Regions from separate parts of the Homo sapiens genome. Here regions 2 and 3 are each linked to region 1. Evidence: promoter capture Hi-C in 16 types of primary human blood cells and fetal thymus (Javierre and others, 2016). All regions are on one chromosome and are shown on one strand. The core of a region is centred on a gene start or on the middle of the fragment in contact, and the rest is flanking DNA. Distances in the headings are between cores, read along the strand shown. Region 1 holds the start of UBQLN2 (ubiquilin 2). Region 2 has its middle 71 kb from the start of KLF8. Region 3 overlaps KLF8 (KLF transcription factor 8).

Region 1 (3,676 bases), core at 1-2,500:
TCGTGCTGGTAGTTGCAGAACTCTGGGTAGCTGGCGGTGGTGCCCATGGATTGGGTAGTGGATCGCGATTTTCTGTGCGGGAAGGCTGCGTACCTTCCCCAGAGGAGGAACTACTCCCCACGGAGGCAAATGGATTACCCCCAAACTGCTCTTGTGCGGCATTCAGCATCGGCTCTTGAATGTCAGTGTACATGCGCCGTAAAGCATTATAGCCACCTGGGATGCTTTCTAGATTGCTAAGAGCCAGGTCTTGATTTCTCATCATCTCTTGCATCATGGCTGGATTCCTGGCAATTTCGAGTGTCTGCCTCATTATGTCTGGGTTGTTGAGCAGGTGACTGATTTCTGGGTTTCTCTGAATCAATTGCTGCATCTGTGGATTAGCCATAATGAGCTGCCTCATCAGATCGGGATTCGAAAGCATGCTCTGAACAAAGGGATTTTCCATTATTTGGATCATCATCTCAGGGCTGGCCATAAGCTGCTGCTGCATCTGGCTCTGGAGCTCAGAGAAGTTGGTCGAGCTCAAGCCCAGGCTGCTAAGGCCTGCAAGTCCTCCCAGGCTCCCCAACCCAAACGGGTTGCTATTTGTGGAAATAGGTGTGGAGTTACTCCTGGGAGTCGACGCCGAGGTAGTGTTAGTTCCCGCGGCATTGCTAGGCTGCGTGGACTGGCCCTGAGGTCGGTTCTGGCTTTTGATGACAAGGTGAACAGTCAGCCCATCATGGATGCCATGCTGGATCAAGGTATCTTGATCTTTTAAGATTTTTCCGGCAAAAATCAGCACTAGCTGATCGGTTTGGGATTTGAAGCGTTTCGAAATCGCTTCCTTAAACTGCTGAACCGAGCTGTTCTCGGGCACCGCGAACTCCTCTTTCTCTTTGGGAGTCTTCACCGTGACTTTGATGATTTTAGGCTCAGCCGGGGCAGCAGCCGAGCCTTGGGCCGCAGCAGGGCCGCGGGAGGGGCGCGGGGGGCCGCTGCTCTCGCCATTCTCAGCCATGGCGGCCGCGGTGACGCAGGCGGGCAGGGAAGGCGCGGGCGGGCGAAAGAGAGAGCGCGAGGGAAGGAGGAAGGAAGGAGGCACCGCCGCAGCGGGCTGGGCCGGGTCAGGCGGGGAGCGCGGAGCACGGTACCTCTGTGATGAAGACTGCGGTTCCCTGGTCCTCCGGTGGAGAAAGGCCTGGGCGTAGGCCGCTGGCTGAGGTCTCCGCGCTCCGGTCTCTGGGCCTCCTCCGCCGCCGCCTTGTGATCCGACCGCGCGCACTCCCAGCAACTCTGGCAGCCGCTCCGCCTGCTGATCCCCGCCCCTTCCCCTCCCCCAGTTCCGCGCTCGCCTCCCCGCCCCCTCTGCTGACGCGGCGCCAGGCCTAGATTGATAGATTTGGCTCGGTCAAAATTAAAAACTTCTGCACTGAAAAGAAAAAAGGGAGAGAGAGAAACAAAGGGAGAGAGAGAAGAGAACAGAACAGTACAGAGCAGGCGAGGCAGAGAGGGTGAGACGGAGAGAAGGAGGCGGTAGAGAGTCAGCTTCTGTAAACGACATTAAAAGACCAATGGAGAATGTATATTAGCAATCTGTAAGGCAGTAAAAGGGTGAAAGCCTGAATCGAACAGATCCCACGTATAAGACGAAAAATGAATAATAAAGAACTCTGACAAAGCAAAAAGAAAAGAGGAACACCTCCAGTAGGGGAAGGGAAGAAGACAGAGCAGGAGCGTGCATTTTACAAAAGGAGTGCAAATGGCCAATAGACATTAAAAAAGGATGATTAATTTCACTACTAATAAAAAGAAATCAAGTTAAAACAATAAAATTCTACTTTTGGCTTATCATATTGGCAGGGAAAAAAATAATGGTAAACCTTCTTGTTGACAGGGACCCTAAAAAATGCCCTCTCAGGCTAGCTGAAGTGTGAATTGTTACAACCATAGGGCAATTTGAAAATATATATCAGCATTTTGAATGTTTCCACCTTTATTTAGAAATGCCTAACCTAGACACTTCGCCTAATAATCGGATGAGGATGCAAAAATATTTATGTATAAAATGTATATACATTGTAGCATTTTAAAATGTTATTTAAATATATTAACTATCTGTTTACATGAGATTAGTTGAGCACATTATCATATTACCATACAAGAAAATATAGAGTGTCTTTAAAGGTATACATGAAATAAACTGTAGTTATAGGGAAATCACAGAGTATTTTCAATTATGCCTTTGTATATTTCTGTACAGTTACAAACTATATAAGAATATATGTTCCAATATCAAAAATACAATAAATATATTTTTATTTTAAAAGCAATTTTTGAACAGTTTGTTGTATATGTAAACCGTATGTGTAAAAAAATCTGGAAGGCTATGCACAAATAAGTTAATGGCTGTTAGTACTGTTTGCTGAAATTATGAATAATTCTTATTTTCTATTTTCATAAGATTTTGAATTTTCTGATGATTTTTGTAAGTATGCACTACAGAAAGGTATTTTGGGGAAGAGTATGGGTAGAAATTGACAGGCACATAATAGTAGTGGCAAACATTGACATATTTACCTAATTTAATTACAGATTAAGTAAGAGCAATAAAGATGTAGCAATGCTGAGAAAGAGAACTTGAAAAATAGAAGAAATAATTTCAAATTTATCTATATATTTCTAACTCTAGGTTAAACCACACAGAAAATTCTTCCCCAACCCCCACCCTCTACCAAGCATCCACCAAAGCACCACTGCTTTCAACATTTAACAGCATTTCAAAGTCATTAGGTCACAAATACTTTAATAAATCTGAAGATAAGAAAAATATATATATACAGGTATGTTATATCCATCGATGGAGAAATGGAAGAATTAATATTATTTTACCTCTCTATTTTATTAATATAATTAATAAAATACAGAGGTAAAAAGATGACTAGCTTTAAATATGTTAATATGTATAGATCTAAAAAGCCAAATTAATTAGTATTAGGTTGATGCAAAAGTAATTGCGGTTTTTGCCATTGAAAGTAACGAATTGTTACTATTATACAATGGTTTTTGCCATTGAAAGTAATAGCAAAAACCGCAATTACTTTTGCACCAACCTAATACATGCCAAACAGCACTCTAATACATTCTTATGTATATTTGAAATATTCTTTTAGAAATATACCAAACTTGCACCCATGAGGAAGAGGAAATGGAATAGGATACAGGATAGTGAGTAAAGGGAACTTAAATATGTAAAAATGCTTTTTATCTTTAAAATGAAAGCAAATATGATAAAATATCAGCAATAGTTAATTATGGGTGGTGAGAATATGAAAATATTATAGGTAATCTTTAATTTCCATAGAATAAAGCTAGATATTAATAATCAAAGTATGAACAAAAAACCAACCATTTGATTATTAAAACATAACTGAATACTTTTGGGGCAAAGTGCAATGTTCTTATTAGAATAAATTTACAAAAATAATGATAATGAGAGCATATACAGCAATACTAATGCTAGGATTTTTCTACGTGTGATCTGAGAACATTGTTAAGAATGCATGTTTCTAGGCCCCACGCCAAACCTACTGAAATAAGTGGTGCACTGGAAGCTGCATTTGTATCAAGGTCCAGTTTAATATTATTTCATTTATTAAGTACTATGTGGATGAACTCAGAGTCAAATTTATAC
Region 2 (3,961 bases), core at 1,415-3,914, 260 kb after region 1:
AACTGAAATGAAAAACCACATGAGCATATGAATAGTGCAGAAAAAGCTTTCAATTAAATTCAACATCTCTTCATATTAAAAACCCTCAACAAATTAGGCATTGAAGGAACATAATTCAAAATAATGAGAGCTACCTATGACAAACCTACGGTCAATATAATACTGAGAATGTGTAAAAGCTGGAAGCATTCCCCTAGAAAACTGTGGCAAGGCAAGGATGCCCTCTTGCCCTCTCTCACCACTCCTATTCAACATAGTAGTGGAAGACCTGAGCAGGGCAATCAAACAAGAGAAAGAAATAAAAGGCATTCCAACAGGAAGAGAGGAAGTCAAACTCTCCCTGGTTGAGGATGATACAATTCTATATCTAGAAAACCCCAGTCTCACCCCAAAACTCCTTGATCTGATAAACAATTTCGGCAAATTTCAGGATATAAAAGTCAATGTACAAATATCAGCAGGATTCCGATACACCAACAACATTCAAGCTGAGAGCAAAATCAAGTACACAATCCCATTCACAATAGCCACAAAAAGAATAAAATACCTAGAAATACAATAAAGCTAACCAGGGAGGTGAAAGCTCTCTACAATAAGAATTACAAAACACTGCTCAAAGAAATCAGAGATGACACAAACAAATGGAAGCATTCCCTGCTTATGTATAGGAAGCATTAATGTTGTGAAAATGACCATACTGCTCAAAGCAATTTACAGATTCAATGCTATTCCTATCATAGTACCAATGACATTTTCCACAGAACTTTTTTTTTTTTTTGAAATGGAGTCTCACTCTGTTGCCCAGACTAGAGTGCAGTGGCACGATCTCGGCTCACTGCAAGCTCCACCTCCCATGTTCTCGCCATTCTCCTGCCTCAGCCTCCCAAGTAGCTGGGACTACAGGCACCCGCCACCACGCCAGACTAATTTTTTGTATTTTTAGGGGGTTTCACCTTGTTAGCCAGGATGGTCTCGATCTCCCGAACTCATGATCTGCCCACCTCAGCCTCACAAAGTGCTGGGATTACAGACGTGAGCCACCACTCCTGGCCTCCACAGAACTTTTTAAAATTCATATGGAACCAAAAAAAAAAGCTTGAATAGGCAAAGCAATCCAAAGCAAAAAGATCAAAGCTGGAGACATTATGTTATGCAACTTCAAACTACACTACAAAGCTACAGTAACCAAAATAAAACGGTACTGGTACAAAAATAGATACATTAGACCAATGGAACAAAATAGCCCGGAAATAATGCAACACATCTATAACTGTCTGATCTTCGATGAAGTCGGCAAAAACAAGCAGTGGGAAAAGGACTCCTTATTCAATAAATGGTGCTGGGATAACTGGCTAGCCTTATGTAGAAAACTGAAACTTGACACCTTCCTTATACCATATACAAAAATTAACTGAAGATGGATTAAAGACTTAAATGTAAAATCTAAAATTATAAAAACCCTGGAAGATAATGCAGGAAATACCATTCTGGACATAGGCACTGGCAGCAATTTCATGACAAAGACACCAAAAGCAATTTTAACAAAACTGACAATTGACAAATATGACAATTAAACTAAAAAGCTTCTGCACAGCAAAAGAAACTATGAACAGAATAATCAGACTACTTACAGAATCAGAGAAAAGATCTGAAAATTATGCATCCAACAAACGTTTAATATCCAGAATCTACAAGGAAATTAAACAAATCAATCTATAAGGAAATTAAACAAATCAATAAGCAAAAAACAAACAACCCCATTAAAAAGTGGGCAAATAACATGAATGGACACTTTTCAAAAGAAGACATACATATGGCTAACAAGCACATGAAAACAATACTAAACATCACTAATCACTGGAGAAATGCAAATCAAAACCACAGTGAGATACCATCTTATACCTGTCAGAATGGCTATTAAAAAGTCAAAAGATAATAAATGCTGGTGAGGTTTCAGAGAAAAGGTTATGCTTGTACACTGCTAATGGAAATGTAAATTAATTTAGCCATTGTGGAAAGCAGTTTGGCAATTTCCAAAAGAACTCAAAGCAGAATTACCATTTGACCCAGCAATCCCATTATTGGGTATATACCCAAAGGAATATAAATCATTTTACCATAAAGCCACATGCACATGTATGTCCACTGCAGCACTATTCAAAATAGCAAAGACATGAAATCAATCTAAATGACCATCAATAGTAGGCTGAATAAAGATAATGTGATACATATACATCATGGAATACTCTACAACCGTAAAAATGAACAAGATCATGTCCTGTGCAGCAACATGGATGAAACTAAAGGCTATTATCCTAAGTGAACTAACACAGGAGGAGAAAACCCAACACCACATATTTTCACTTATAAGTGGGAGCTAAATATTGAGTACACGTGGACACAAAGAAGGAAACAACAGACACTGGGGCCTACTTGAGGGCGGAGGAAGGGAGAAGGGTGAGGATTGAAAAACTACCGTGTCATGTACTATCATGTATTATGCTTTTATTACCTGGGTGGCAAAATTATCTTTTCACCAAACCCCAATTTACAAACCAAACCAAACATGCAATTTACCTATGTAACAAACCAGCATATGTAATTCTGAACGTAAAATATGTTTTTAAAAAAGAAGACTGAAAGCAAACATGGAAAAGGATTAAAATTAGTAAAATGTGGGTGATGAGAAAAGGAAAAAACAAAAATTAAAATTCAGCAGAATAATTTTAAAAGTTAGCCGAATTGACACAGGTAGGGGAAGAGCTGTAATTTAAACCCACTTTTCTATGACTCCTAAGACCGTGTAATTAATCACTATGCTACACTGCTATATTTAGGTTTATCTTATTCCATGGTAACAAATAGCCACATATGGATCAAATTTAAAGTATTTAGAGATAAGTCTTCCAATATCAGTAAAATAGTAGGTTAGGTATCTTGACTAATGCTTACGCTGAAAACAACTAAAGTGTAAATAATGTACAAAACTTATTCTTATATCATAAAGAGCTGGCAAAATAGTATGTTTTTTTGTTCAGGCCAAAATCTACAAAATGTGGCAGTCCACAAAAATAACAGGAGTATCAAAGCCACTTTTGCACATTGAACCCTTGTTTTCATGGGTTTGGTATTCTAAAGGGATGGAAGACAAAGTCTGGACTCCATGTAAGATGGAAAATCTAACAAGAGACCCTGAATCCATAAATTTGGAACCCTAAAGAGCTATATTTTCAGTGAAAGAATGAAGTAGATGTAAACATACCCAACCCACAGCAACCCCCAGAGAACTACAAAGAAAGTTGCCTGGTTCCTATGCATTGCAGGGGATGAAGCCATCACTGAGATTTTATAACTCGAGCACACCCTTATGAGAATTACTACCCAAATTCCCATAATCTAGGTGGCCCTAAAGGCCTCAAGCTGTTATTTAATGTCATTCTACACTAATAATACCCCAAGAGACCTGAAAGAAGCAAATACCAATTTCCTATGGAAAAAGGTTCCATCATCTAAGCTCTTAAAGAAGTCCTATAAATAAATTTTCAAGAATGGGCTGCTCACCACAAAAAAAAAAAAAAAAAAAAAAAACAGTAACAGAGCGGAATAAGGAGCTATGAGGGAGAACTGTCATAAACAAACTGATAGTAGAGAAAGACCCACAAAAACTTCAGATGTTGGAATTCTCAGACAAAAAACATATAATGACTATGCTTGTTACATTTAAAGAGGTAAAATATAAGCTTAAAACACCTGTAATGAACAGTACACTATAAACAATGATCCCACAGATTTATACAATAACCAAATAGAATTTCTAGAAATTAAAAAAACAAAATAAAACCATAAAACTAAGATTAAAACTCAATAGACATTTAGCATTTCACCAAAATATAGTACTCTTGGGCATTAATCTCAGAGAAACTGATGGAGAACAGAATATCATCCCATTAATTTATTAAAA
Region 3 (3,822 bases), core at 329-2,828, 280 kb after region 1:
ACTACATTGTTATGCTCTTTCCATTTAGGAAGTTAAAAAAGTCGTTTAGGACACTATCAAACCACTTTTAGGTACTTATTTTAAAAACATATGGATAAGAGTTCTAGAAAACAAGAGAAAAATTGGAAAGAATAAAGCAGCGTATGTTTGTTCACAGCCTTGAGTTTGATTCCTGTTTTGTTACTGTAGGAAAAATGTCCTATTTCAGAGCAGGGGGGGATGGGAAGGCAGCCATGGGTGCCACACTGGAATTCAACCCATGTGGAGGTTGAAAAAAACGGGTCTGGACAGTGGAGAAGTGAAGGTAGAATATGAAGAGCCCCACGGGAGACCAGCTCTCTTTTCCTCCAGTCTCCTCAACTTGGCTCAGTGGGCTGCTTCAACCCCATATGCAAGCTGAAGTCAAAGAGGAAAAAATTGTCCCAACCTCAGCACACGACCAGGAAAGATACCAGCGCAGCTTCTCTAGTGTGACCTGTGCGGCTCACATGGTGTCATGGCGACGGCGATGCAGGGACAGGTGGTCAGAACGAGAAAAGCTGCGGTTGCAGTCTGTGCACCGAAAAGGCTTGATGCCTGTGTGCTTGCGGAAATGGCGAGTGAGCTCATCTGAGCGAGCAAATTTCCAGGAGCAGCCATCCCAGGTGCATTTATAAGGCTTCTCTCCTAAAAAGGGAATGTGACAAAAAAAAGAGAATCAGAGAGAGGATGATCGGATACTAGAAAGATAATAGAATACATAACTCGTATCAAGGCTTTAGTGAAAAGGCTAGGCAATAACCTTGAAGGCATATGCCTGTAAATCTTTTAAGTTAATTAATTGATTGAGAAGCACTGTATAAATGTACAACATGATGTTTTGAGATGTATATACATTGTGGAATGGCTAAGTCGAGTTAATTAACATACATATTACCTATATACTTATCTTTTTTTGTGGTAAGAACACTTGAAATCTACTCTCTCATTGATTTTCAATAATACAATACATTGTTACCTACAGGAGTTCTAAAGAAAGTCCAAGATGTTAGAGTGGGAAGCACATAGCCTCTTGTTCAAATAGGCCTTTGTGTGATCCGGCTCTACTACAAACTAGCTGTGTGATCTTATATAATCACTTCTCCCTGGCTTGGTCTCTGTTTTCTCATCTCTAAAGGATAAAAATATATCACAAAGTTGTTCAAAACATTTTATTTTTAAAAGATAGCTAGCAACCAATACAACTGGGATCTAAACTCAGGTCTTTGGCACTTTATAATATCCGTTCCTCTAATATCTCCTACCAAACAGTCTAAAATAGAGCCATATGGTCCGGTGCGGTGGCTCACGCCTGTAATCCCAGCACTTTGAGAGGCAGAGGCGGACGGATCATGAGATCAGTATATTGAGAACATCCTGGCTAACACGGTGAAACCCCGTCTCTACTAAAAATGAAAAAAATAAGCTGGGCGTCGTGGAGGGCGCCTGTAGTTCCAGCTACCCAGGAGGCTGAGGCAGGAGAATGGCGTGAACCCGGGAAGCGGAGCTTGCAGTGAGCCGAGATTGCGCCACTGCACTCCAGCCTAGGAGAGAGCGAGACCTGTCTCAAAAAAATAAATAAAATAAAATAAAATAGAGCCATATATACACAGGATGAATGTGTGATTCATTGGAAAGGGCCCTCAGCTAAGGCTACAGGTCTTTTGTGTAAGGTTAGAAACTCAAGGGCATGTAATGGCATGGGGGGCAGTGTCAGGTCAAACTTTTTGAAATAGCTCCATGCCCAGAATCTTTGGGTTGTATTTGAATTATATATAGGATATGTATGCTCAAGATAGAAAGCTAAATGGAAAAAAAGTAGTATAAAAAAATTAACGCAGTATGACCCCATTATGGTATATAGATCACACACCATACATTTGTATACTCATAATAAAGCCAATATCAATACACTTAAATGTACATTATGAGAGAAACTGTTAACAGTGAATGACTTTGTGGAAAGTGAGGACCAGGGATGGTGGGAAGAGAACTTTTCATTTTTACTTTATACCCTTTTGTACTGTTTTAAATGCTTTAAAATCATAATGTTGTATCATATAATAAAAATTTTGAAAAAGGAAATAAGCTATATGAGCAACAATAAATATTAACTGTGGATAAGTCTGGGTTGTAGGATTAGGGTAATGTTTGCTTTCTTCTTAATACATTTTTCTGTTTCCCATCTTCTACAATGAGCATGTATTATTTTACAATCAGAAACAAACAATAATGCAGACACAAAAATGCATTGGTATTCTAACAGTCTCTTTCTCTCGGTCTTTTCCCCTTTACTCCCTGTAAATTACCTAGGGCATTTAATTTTATGCTGTTCTAAATTCTGGTGGCAATCTGGCTTGCATAAACTGTTTTCCAACTTACTACACACCACCTACCAACCCTCCCAAGTGTTTGCTAATTAACTGTATAGTGTTCACATAATGAGCAACAGAATGAAATCCAGTCTGAATCACAGCTTTGGACTATATCAAGGCAAACATTTCAAAGATTAAAGACATCAATTACTGATCATTTCAATATTCAGAAATAGCTGCATTAGCTGCTAAGAAGAATGAGATAAAGCTGGATGTAATGAGACAAAAAAGATGGCAAATGAAATGTTATCAAATTAAAAAAGATACTGAACAACCACACACACACATGCTCACGGAGAGTAGGATCTCATTTATGTTTTCTAAATCTTGTGCCTGTCCTTCTCTGTCTCTCTCTCTCCAAGGAGGAAAGATCTGGAAGGCTATACAACAAATTGTTAACAGAGGGAAGAAGAATAGGATTTCAGGGGATGTTTAGAGTGTGTAAATTAAATTTTCACTTTTTGTTCTATGTGATTTTATAGCATCTCCACATCTCCCAATGGCTGCATTGCTATCTATACATTTTGTTGTGATCTCTCAAGAATGTCTTCTGAGAATTCCTATATACACCTCAACCAATTGAGGAAAATTTGACTTGTAAGGCAGTGACACCCTGTGGTGATCAGAGCTCATTTCTAGAACACACAAATTATTGTAAAGGAATTCAGCAGTGAGGCCCATTTTCCTATTTCAAAAGCATTTACCCTTGTATTATCATTGAACAAGCTCCTGTTTGTGCCAATGAACATCATACAACACAACTTGTAATCTCCATCAACTTATCATTTGAATTAAAGAACAAAGTATATATGCAGAGAAAGAATTCATAATATAAAGCACATATATTAACTATGTGACAAAGATAGTAAGTGTGACATGGCAGGTGCGGTGGCTCATGCCTGTAATCCCAGCACTTTGGGAGGCTGAGGCACATGGATCACTTGAGGTCAGGAGTTCGAGACCAGCCTGGCCAACATAGTGAAACCCCGTCTCTACTAAAAACACAAAAATTAGCCGGGTGTGATGGTGCACACCTGTAGTCCCGCTACTTGGGAGGCTGAGGCATGAGAATTGCTTGAACCCGGGAGGCAGAGGTTGCAGTGAGCTGAGATCACACCACTGCACTCCAGCCTGGGCGACAGAGCAAGACTCTGTTTCAAAAAAATAAGTAAGTGTGATATAAGTTCCAAGGCTAGCTAATAACCTCTGGGTTACTGTGAAGGCACAAATATGGAGGTATGGGCAGGTTTTAGATGAAGAAAGCAACCCAGGCAGCTGGTGGCAAGGTCTTGGCAAGGCAGTGCAGTGAATGGTACATATAGGGTCAGCTGTCTTGGAGCATGGAACATCCTTACAAGAGTATTATGAGATGATCCTTATTATAAAAGACAGATGAAAAACTTGGGATTATTTTTAAAAAGAGAATTTG

Evidence for each region. The method cuts DNA at HindIII sites, captures the fragments that hold promoters and counts their contacts. A CHiCAGO score of 5 or more calls a contact.
Region 2: a fragment that was not itself captured here is called in contact with the fragment with the promoter of UBQLN2 in region 1 in 5 of 17 cell types (non-activated CD4 T cells, total CD4 T cells, naive CD4 T cells and 2 more); the score reaches 8.4 in non-activated CD4 T cells.
Region 3: a fragment that was not itself captured here is called in contact with the fragment with the promoter of UBQLN2 in region 1 in 7 of 17 cell types (naive CD4 T cells, total CD4 T cells, naive CD8 T cells and 4 more); the score reaches 13.5 in naive CD4 T cells.

The regions. Positions count from the first base shown.
Region 1 is chrX:56,561,201-56,564,876 of GRCh38, reverse strand. It overlaps UBQLN2 (ubiquilin 2), which reads right to left and starts at 1,250. Exons shown (of 1, transcript NM_013444.4): 1 at 1-1,250. The coding sequence starts at 1,003. RefSeq lists enhancers at 254-313, 324-523, 920-1,547. The HindIII fragment of the contact is 11,191 bases long and covers 1-3,676 here.
Region 2 is chrX:56,301,496-56,305,456 of GRCh38, reverse strand. No RefSeq gene overlaps it. Among named protein-coding and RNA genes, the nearest start is that of KLF8, 71 kb to the right of the region's middle. The HindIII fragment of the contact is 2,157 bases long and covers 1,586-3,742 here.
Region 3 is chrX:56,281,157-56,284,978 of GRCh38, reverse strand. It overlaps KLF8 (KLF transcription factor 8), which reads right to left. Exons shown (of 6, transcript NM_007250.5): 6 at 1-666. The coding sequence ends at 485. Among named protein-coding and RNA genes, the nearest start is that of KLF8, 51 kb to the right of the region's middle. The HindIII fragment of the contact is 7,753 bases long and covers 1-3,822 here.